Linked DNA regions of Homo sapiens: region 1 is linked to region 2. Evidence: promoter capture Hi-C in 16 types of primary human blood cells and fetal thymus (Javierre and others, 2016). All regions are on one chromosome and are shown on one strand. The core of a region is centred on a gene start or on the middle of the fragment in contact, and the rest is flanking DNA. Distances in the headings are between cores, read along the strand shown. Region 1 overlaps CARD16 (caspase recruitment domain family member 16). Region 2 holds the start of MSANTD4 (Myb/SANT DNA binding domain containing 4 with coiled-coils).

Region 1 (4,373 bases), core at 783-3,282, 980 kb before region 2:
GCCATGAGAAAAGGGCCACCATCCTCCAGATCCTAAAATGGTAGATCCACAAACGGCTTGCACCATGCACCTGGAATACTCAGGCACTCAATGCCAACCCATGAAAGCAGCTAGGAGGGATGCTGTACACTGCAAAGCCACGAGGGTGGAGCTGCCCAAGGCCATGGGACCCCGACTCTTGCATCAGCATGACCGAGATATGAGACATGGAGTCAAAGATCATTTTGAAGCTTTAAGATTTGGCTGCCCTACTGGATATTGGACTCGCATGGGGAATGTAGCCCCTTCCTTTGGCCAATTTCTCCCATTTGGAATGGGTGTATTTACCCAATGCCTGTATCCCCGTTGTATCTAGGAAGTAACTAACTTGCTTTTGATTTTACAGGCTCATAGGTGGAAGGGACTTGCCTTGTCTTAGAGAAGACTTTGGACTTGGACTTTTGGGTTAATGCTGGAATGAGTGAAGACTTTGAGGAACAGTTGGAAGGCAGGATTGGTTTTGAAATGTGAGCACATGACATTTAGGAGAGGCCAGGGGCAGAATGACAGAGTTTGGCTCTGTGTCCCCACCAAAACCTCACCTTAAATTGTAATAATCCCCTGGTGTCATGGGAGGCACCTGGTGGGAGGTAATTGAATCATGGAGGTGGGTTTTTCCCATGTTGTTCTCATGATAGTGAAAAAGTCTCATGAGATCTGATGGCTTCATAAAGGGGAGTTCCCCTGCACATGCCTTTTTGTCTGCTTCCATGGAAGATGTGTCCTTGCTCCTCTTTTGCCTTCCACCATGATTGTGAGGCTTCCCCAGCCATGTGGAACTATGAGCCCATTAAACCTCTTTTTTTCTTTATAAATACCCAGTCTTGGGTATGTCTTTATTAGCAGCATGAGAACAGACTAATACACCTGGTATGTAATATGTAACTGGAATATTCAGACTGTTCAAATGTAGCAAGTGATGAGAATGATAAAAAAAAAATTGGCAAAGTAGGAGACAAAATATTGCAGGACTCATGAACTTTAGACAGAGGAGCCAGGGAAGGCCAGAAAAGGTCTCTGCCTTTGCAATCACATGTTCAATTGCTTATCCCAGAAACAAACTCAATGTGGCTAATTTATTTTATAAATCTATTTGATGAAAGGTGGGCTAATTGCAAAATGCACACGGTATGTTACGTTTATCAAATTCTTTACCAAAAATTCTCCTGATTTGTTACCTTAATATTTTTGGAGATTAAAGACCCAGAGTTAGAAAAACATCCACCTTTTGACATGTGGGCTACCAGTTTTATTTTCTGTGCTCTAGGTGAAGGGTTAAATGTGTTTGGGTTTGACTAGAACTCACTGTGTAGGAGGACATCGTTTTTTTTTTTTATTTTTTATTTTTTGACAGAGTCTCGCACTGTCACCCCACTGGAGTGCAATGGTGCCATCTCCGCCTCCCGGGTTCATGTGATTCTCCTGCCTCAGCCTCCCAAGTAGCTGGAATTACAGGCACCACCACACCTGGCTAATTTTTTGTATTTTTACTAGAGATGGGGTTTCACTATGTTCACCAGACTGGTCTCAAACTCCTGACCTCGTAATCTGGCCACCTTGGCCTCCCAAAGTGCTGGGATTATAGATGTGAGCCACCATGCCCAACCTCTCATGGTGTTTTATCTTTACTTTGCCAATGACTTAATCCGATGGCAGCACAAACTTGTGCTCCTTGCCACTGGGAGGATTTGTAGCATGGAAGAAAGCAGAAATTGCCTGTGTATTACTTATCTTCCCATCATGTACTTTTAAATGATTCAATTTTTTTTCTATTAACTAAAGTATTTCACATGAGGGTTTCGCCCACAGCCAGAGCCATGAACCACTGAGTTGAAGCATGTCAGAGTGACATCCCAGAAACAGAAGCCATGACTAGACCATATATCTGGGAATGTAGAACCATAAGCCTTGAGTCTCATGTCATGGAAAGCTAAACACTGAGCCACTAGATTGCAAGGGCCCACTGTTTCCTCAAAAATGAAGATGTCAAAAACTGGAAACAAATAAATATCCAATTCCAGAGCATAAAATAACAATTTGTGCTATACATGTACACTGAAATGCTATTCAGTCATGAAAGGGAAAAATTACTAATATATGCAATAACATGGATGAAAAAAATATGTTTCAATTATGAGTGAAAGAAGCCATATAGGAAGGAACACATACCCTGTGATTCCAATTATATAAAGTTCTAGATTAGGAAAAACTAACGTACAGTGATAGAAATTCGATGACTACTTATCTGAGGAGGAAGTGGAAGGAGATTGATAACAATGGGCGTGACAAAACTTTCTGGGGTGACAAAATCGGTTTGCCTATTCACTAGGATGTTATTATACTAGAATAGCCATGTATCATTAGTTATCAACTTGTATTCTTAAAAGGAGTACATTTTCTTTGACGTAAATTATACAAAAATAACATTAAAATTTTGAAGCGAAAATGGTCAGTGGTTGTAATAATATATATTTTTTTGTTGATTTCTGGCTGGACACACTCCACAAATTTGTAAAAATTTTGGTAAGAGGAAGTTGTTCTTATAGTGACTGAGTTGTAATTACCAACCACCCAAGTTGGATGGGGAATTGTAGACAGAGTGGATATAATTTATAGGAACCAAATTGTTGACTTAAATGTGTACTTGGAAAATAGAATTACAAAGGTAAAATCATCTCAAAATAAATGAATGTAACAATTCTATTATAAGTAATATTTTAAATGTGCATAATGTTATAAAATCCTGTCAGTGTGAAGTCTGGGAAACAATATAATTTTAAATGACAGAGTAGGTACTGTAAAAATCTCTGACATAGAAGGCAGACAATTCTGTGCTTGGGTTTTGGCCATCCCATTTCCAAGCCTTAGAAGTTCATGGACACTTTCAGTTTATCCAACTCTTCTTAGTTATATTTTTGGACTATCAGCACATTTTGTGTAATACAACTTAGAGCACTAATCAACTATTACATGTTATTTTATTTTTTCTTTGTCTAAAAGCCTCTTTCTTTCTGCCCGGTTTATCAGTGTGGACTTTGGCATCTAATAGCCCTAGGGTCAACTTCTATTTATGAGCTGTAGATCTTAACCAAGTTATTTAACATCTCCCATCCTCCGTGTTCTCATGTATAGGAGGGGCCTCATTATCATTCTTACCTTCTAAGATGCAATGCCTGGTGTAGAGAGCATGCCACTATACCTCTCATTTATAGTAGTCATAAGCTATAGCCCAGAAGCAAGGTAATGTTAAAATGTACTTTTTGGTAAAGTGCTTCTAAATTATTCATATGCTTCATTTCAATATGTTAAATAAACATTAATTTCATTTTATGAATAGGAACAACAGGTAAAAAACTGACTCCAATTCTTGGTAAACACAAGTTGGAGAATTGGGTGAGAAGCAAGAGTCCACTTCAATACTTGCTCAATGGGATGTGCTTTTTTCCAACTGGGCACTACACTGGAAAATCTGGGTTATACAAGCAGACAAAATGGCTTGTTTGTGTCAGTGGGAAATAAATTCTAAGAGACAGACTGGGTGAAGACTATGATAATTTATGAGTTCCAGTTTGCAACTCTTTACCTAAACCTGGGATTCTAGGATATAGAGATCCTTTATGCAAGGGGAGCAGAAGTATGTTCCTCCAGAACCGCTCAATAAAATTGGTTCTAAGAAAAAGCCACTGCATTTCAAAACTGCCTGAAGTATATCTTTCACTCCACTTTATTATTGTATTCTGAACATGGCACCTCTGCAACTTTTGTTTCCATATCCTTTGAGCGTCTTCTAGAAAGCAAAGCTTGATTCTGCCTTCTGGGCTTGAGCATGTGGGCATAGCTGGGTTGTCCTGCACTGCCTGAAGAGCTGCAAGAGACAAGGAATATCATGAACAGTGGTATCCCTCTTTGTTCTTATAGCCTCACCTATGGAGGAAGCTACAAAAGAGGAAATACATTCCTAGAGGACAATCCTAATCTAGTCATTAACATAGTTGAGTGCGTTTGCTGCTAATGGAGCACATTTCAAGCCAGAGATTTCTAGGTATGCATTACAGGGAGGATCTACTTTCATATTTGAGCATAAGTATTTCTACAAGCATCTTAGATAAAAACAGAGAGGAAGCTTTTCAAGGCCATGCATGATAAAACACTCAGGAAACAGTCAATGAGTGATATAAAATAGTTAAAATATGATTTGTTTTCAAAGGATTCAAACCCTAGGATAAAATTTAATGGGAGCAGGTCTTAATTAACACTAATTAATTTTTAAAATATGTGTTTATCCTTTTATTTATTTACCTAATAGACATGGTAGTAAACACTGGGAATATTTT
Region 2 (4,501 bases), core at 728-3,227:
GAAGTATCAGGAATTAAAGCTGGAAAATTAGGATAGTGCCAAGCAGCAAATCTTACTAAGCGAATTCTGGCTTAATAAGACTATTATTTGCTAAAAATGAACTGAAAGAGACAAATATAACTGTGAAAGTTTTTTGAAATTCAAGCAGGCTACCATTAATATGGAAGAACTGTTACTGTAGTAACATATAAATATATAACCAATATAAGTATATAATAAAAATGATTGAAGTTGTCGAGAGTCCAAATTTATGCAGATATCCACCGTAAGATTTTGCTCTTAGAATCTGAGATCAATTTAGAAATCGCATTGTTGTAAATGTATTGGTACATGGTAGAAATAGCAGTCCTTTTGAAGTACCACTGAGTCAATATATTTTTAAAGTTTGACAGCAGCTGTTGCTATTTGCAGGGCCTATTTTTGACCAACAATTCCTAACTCCATATCTCTAACTTACAAAGTGGTATCCCGTTGTCCTGACTGATCTATTCTGAACTGATGAACTATTTCATTTAATCAAATGGGCTTTAATACATTTTTAACCTGACTGAAATTGATATTGGGATGCACCTTAGATACCCAGTCTTGGCTTAATTGTGTGAAAATCTTCTTCTAAAACCTTGATATTTTCTGATTAAGTGCAAGAAAGTGCCAGCATTGATGCATCTTGAGTTGTTGAAGTTCTGTAGATATGCTTACCTGGATAAAAGCCATTTCCAGAAATGTTTGTCTTCCTGTCCTCTCCTTTATATGCCGGTATCCAAGTAACAGAAGCTTGGGTTTTCTACCATCCATTCATTCCCCAATAATTTCCTCAAAAAATACTTACTGAGCTCCTACTGTGTGAAAGGCACTATTTTTGGTGCTGGGGATATAACACCTCATAAAATGTGAAAATATGTCATTTTAGATGTCAAACACTATCCCTTTTCTATTGCCTGTCATCGCTCTCTTAGCAGAAAGGATTCAACAGCTGCAGTCTCTAAAACTTACAAACCTTCTATGCCCAATCACAGAGAACAGCCATTTTCTAAAATCCCATTTCACAATCGTTCTTCACTAGTTGGAAACAGGAATGAGATGTAGTTCACTTACGTAATCCTTGTGAAGATGATGTACTGCCAATGGCATAATATAACCAGGCAACTTTTTACAAGCACTAAAACTTGAGAATGAAGTTCCTAGATACTTCATGATAAGTCAGAATTAAGAAGTCTGAGAAAAACCAGACGGCAAGTTCCGGATCAAAAAAATTTGAGGGTAAATTAGTTAAGCAGTTCAAGAAGAAAAGCATCACAAATCTACAATATCAAACCCTACCCAAATTCTCTTTAAAGTGTGGCTTTCCCCTCCCCTATATTCTTATAGGGGATTCACTTCCCTGCCAAAAAGTATGTTCTTCTCTAAAACTCGTGGTAGGTGCATAACAAGTATACTTATGGGTCGACGGTTATCAAAGTATCTTTCACCTCCCTCCCGCTGCCTCCTTTGGGACCGTCCAAAAAGAGCCCCTGGGAAGAATCGAGTTAGACTGGGCTCCCGGAAGGCCACCCAGGGGAGCAGGGGCGCGCACCTGCCTCGGCCACAATGATGAGGTTGCTGCTGGTAGGAGTCCCGGTGGGAGTCGGGGCAACCTGGAAGATCTCCTCTCTCTGGGTATTAAATGAGAGTCCCGACTGAGTGCCCAGAAACTTCTGCAGTCTTGTTTCCGTGGCCTGGGCCCTCCCCAGCCTCCCCGGTCAGGCGACAGACGCGCGTGGCACTTCTCCCGAGCGTGCAGTCCCGCTACGTCGCAGCCCTTGGACCAAACCCGGCAGCAAGCGTTGCGCCAATTGCCGCTGACCCCTCCGGGACCCTACCCACTGCGAGGGCACCCACTGGTCACGGAGCCGCCGCTTCCCTGGCCGCCTCCTCCAGCATAGAACCGCTCACCTGCGACCCCGGCGGCACCTCCCCACGGTCGCCCCAAGGGGGGTAGGAAAAAAGATGCTTCATTGATCCCCCGCCCACTAACTGGGCCCGCCCATCTCCCGCCACCCCAATGGCTCATATGGCTGCCGCTCATTTGATGAGTCTCATCCATTGGTTAGAATGGTGTAGCCATTCTGGCTGAGAGCCCGCCCTAGGCCTGGCCTCACAATGGGAATCAAGTCCCAAACCGGTTCCGGGTTAGTGCCCTGGAATTCCGCCCCCTCGTGATTCACCTCCCTGTCTGTGCCCCGTCTGTGGCGCGCAGCTCTGTCAGTCAAGTGGACTCTAGGAAGGGATTGGCCCCTAGAGATCCGCTTGCTGCGCTGTTCCAACTGATTGGGGCACTGGCCGCTGCATCTCCAAACTCGTCTCTTGTCCTTGACCCTCACCTGTTAAAAGGGCAAAGAAGAAGTAGGAAACTTGTGCTGCTCCAGTCGGGTTCTTAGGCCAGCATCACCTTCTCCTCGACCAGCTGCGACCTAATTGGCCTCAGCCATTCCTCTAAGGCTGCCCGTGCCAAAGGTCGCTGGTGACTTCCTTATGGCTAAATCTAGGAGTCACTTCTTAGTCCTTATCATACTATATACTTCCCAGAAGACATTTGAATTTTTTTTTTTTTTTTTTTTTTTTTTTACCATTCTTCACTGTTTCCCCAAATATGTGCTTCTGCTTTCTTCTCTCCCAGTCCTCCTCTATATTCAAGTTTGCAGTTGCTTATTTTCTGCCGTCTCACGTTCAGGTGTTTGTGATTAGTGCACCTTTCTTCCCGCTGCCTCTGTCCAGGCCTCTGTGGACTCACCTGAATTCCATCAGTAGCCTCCTAGCTGGTCTCCCAACATCCTGTCTGCCGGACTGTAGTTCATTCTTCACGTTGTAGCCAAAATGAGCTGCTTAAAGTTTTTTAGTGGAATCTCACCACTGGTGATACAGTACAAACTCCTTATCGAACCTGAAAAATAAGGCACCTACTTTTCCCTCAACCTTCATCTCTCGACATTATACCCACATTTCTTCTTCCTTACCCCATTCCCTTTGCTTCTTTCAGTTCCTGAACTCTACAGTGGCTACTGGGAAGTCAGTTTGCATTGCTGTGTTTCCTCCCTGCTTCTCCGCTATGCCTAGCATTCATTTTTAGAAATTCCTTTCTAAAGGAAGGCTTCCAAAATTATCTCCATTCACCCTCCCTCCACTTCCAAGTATTCCCTTCCCTGTAGGTTTGCCAGATAAAAACAGGACGCTCAGTTAAATTTGAAGTTCAGATAAAAAGCAAATAATTTTTAATCTGTCCAATGGAATATTTGGTATCCATATGTTTATTTGCTAAATTTAAAAAAATAAAAATTTTTGTTTACTAAATCTGCAAGCCTACTTCAGCGAGCTCTCATCACGGCCTTTCCTCTGACAGCACTTCCCACATATTTTATGTGGGTGGGGCTTTTCTTGTTTACTGTTGTGAATAACACAGTGCCTAGAATGTAACAGACAAAAAAGATTTGGTAAATAAATGGTGGAATATTCTGGAGGAATGGTGCATCCTTGCTGGATATTCTTGGAGGAACTCTCCCATAAAATAGGAAGTAATTATGAAATATGCTCTTTAAAATGTAATGATCAGATTGATCTTACAGATTGTTACTTATGACTTTGTCAGTAAGTATAGACATGTTTGTCAAAGAAGCATGTCTATACTTTTGCCAAAGTAGATCAAAAGAAACTTGTAATTTTTGGAAAAATACAAGTTGTATTTTATAATTTTGGATTTTGTTCATGGTGGGTGGTGTTTTTTTGATGAGTGCAGTGAGAAAGTAAGATAACTAGCTATCCCCATCATAACCAGACACTATCAGTTCTGTTCAGAACCTGTCCACCACTTGACTCTGTTTATTTACCTCAGTAATGGGGACAAGAATGGTGAATCAGTATTAACAAACTTTTGCTTTCGTATCATGAACTCTAAGCTTTCCCCAATTAACCTCAGTCTCTTTGCTAATTGAAGTATCTTTTCCAAATACCCTCACTATTTCCTCTCAGCTACATCTTGTCTGAGTGGATATGGACCAACAATGAAGAATTTGAAGGTAATCCATAATGTGTACTATCAGTACTCCATGATCAACCTGTTTGCTGATTTAATTTTTCTTAAGTCCAGGCTAGAGATTTGACCCAAAGATACTTACACACTTACTTTACAACTGTGCTGTCCAACTGTGATAGCCAGATGAGTCATTGGAATGTGGCTAGTACAACCAAATAACTGAATTTTAATTTTATTAATTTTAATTAACTTTAATTTAAAAACTGATATTTGATTCAAGTTACTAGATACTTCTATTTGGAAAATTTGGGTTATGTGTATACTTTTTCAATTGTAAACTTTTTGAAATCTAAATATAGATCAAGTATTTCTGATTTAAAAATAGTGTCTGAATTGAGATGTGCTGTAAGTGTAAAATATATGCAGGATTCCAAGATTTAGCATGAAAAAAATAAATATCTCACTAATAATTTTTGTGTTGACTATAAGTTGAAA

The links. Contacts are between HindIII fragments. The CHiCAGO score rates a contact against its expected background, and 5 or more counts as called.
Region 1: a contact is called between a fragment that was not itself captured here and the fragment with the promoter of MSANTD4 in region 2, in 1 of 17 cell types (non-activated CD4 T cells). The highest score is 7.4, in non-activated CD4 T cells.

The regions. Positions count from the first base shown.
Region 1 is chr11:105,037,816-105,042,188 of GRCh38, forward strand. It overlaps CARD16 (caspase recruitment domain family member 16), which reads right to left. Exons shown (of 4, transcript NM_052889.4): 4 at 3,748-3,904. Among named protein-coding and RNA genes, the nearest start is that of CASP1, 4.9 kb to the left of the region's middle. The HindIII fragment of the contact is 3,609 bases long and covers 229-3,837 here.
Region 2 is chr11:106,020,263-106,024,763 of GRCh38, forward strand. It overlaps MSANTD4 (Myb/SANT DNA binding domain containing 4 with coiled-coils), which reads right to left and starts at 1,978. Exons shown (of 3, transcript NM_032424.3): 1 at 700-1,978. RefSeq lists enhancers at 1,500-1,619, 2,450-2,519 and a silencer at 1,950-2,059. The HindIII fragment of the contact is 3,155 bases long and covers 773-3,927 here.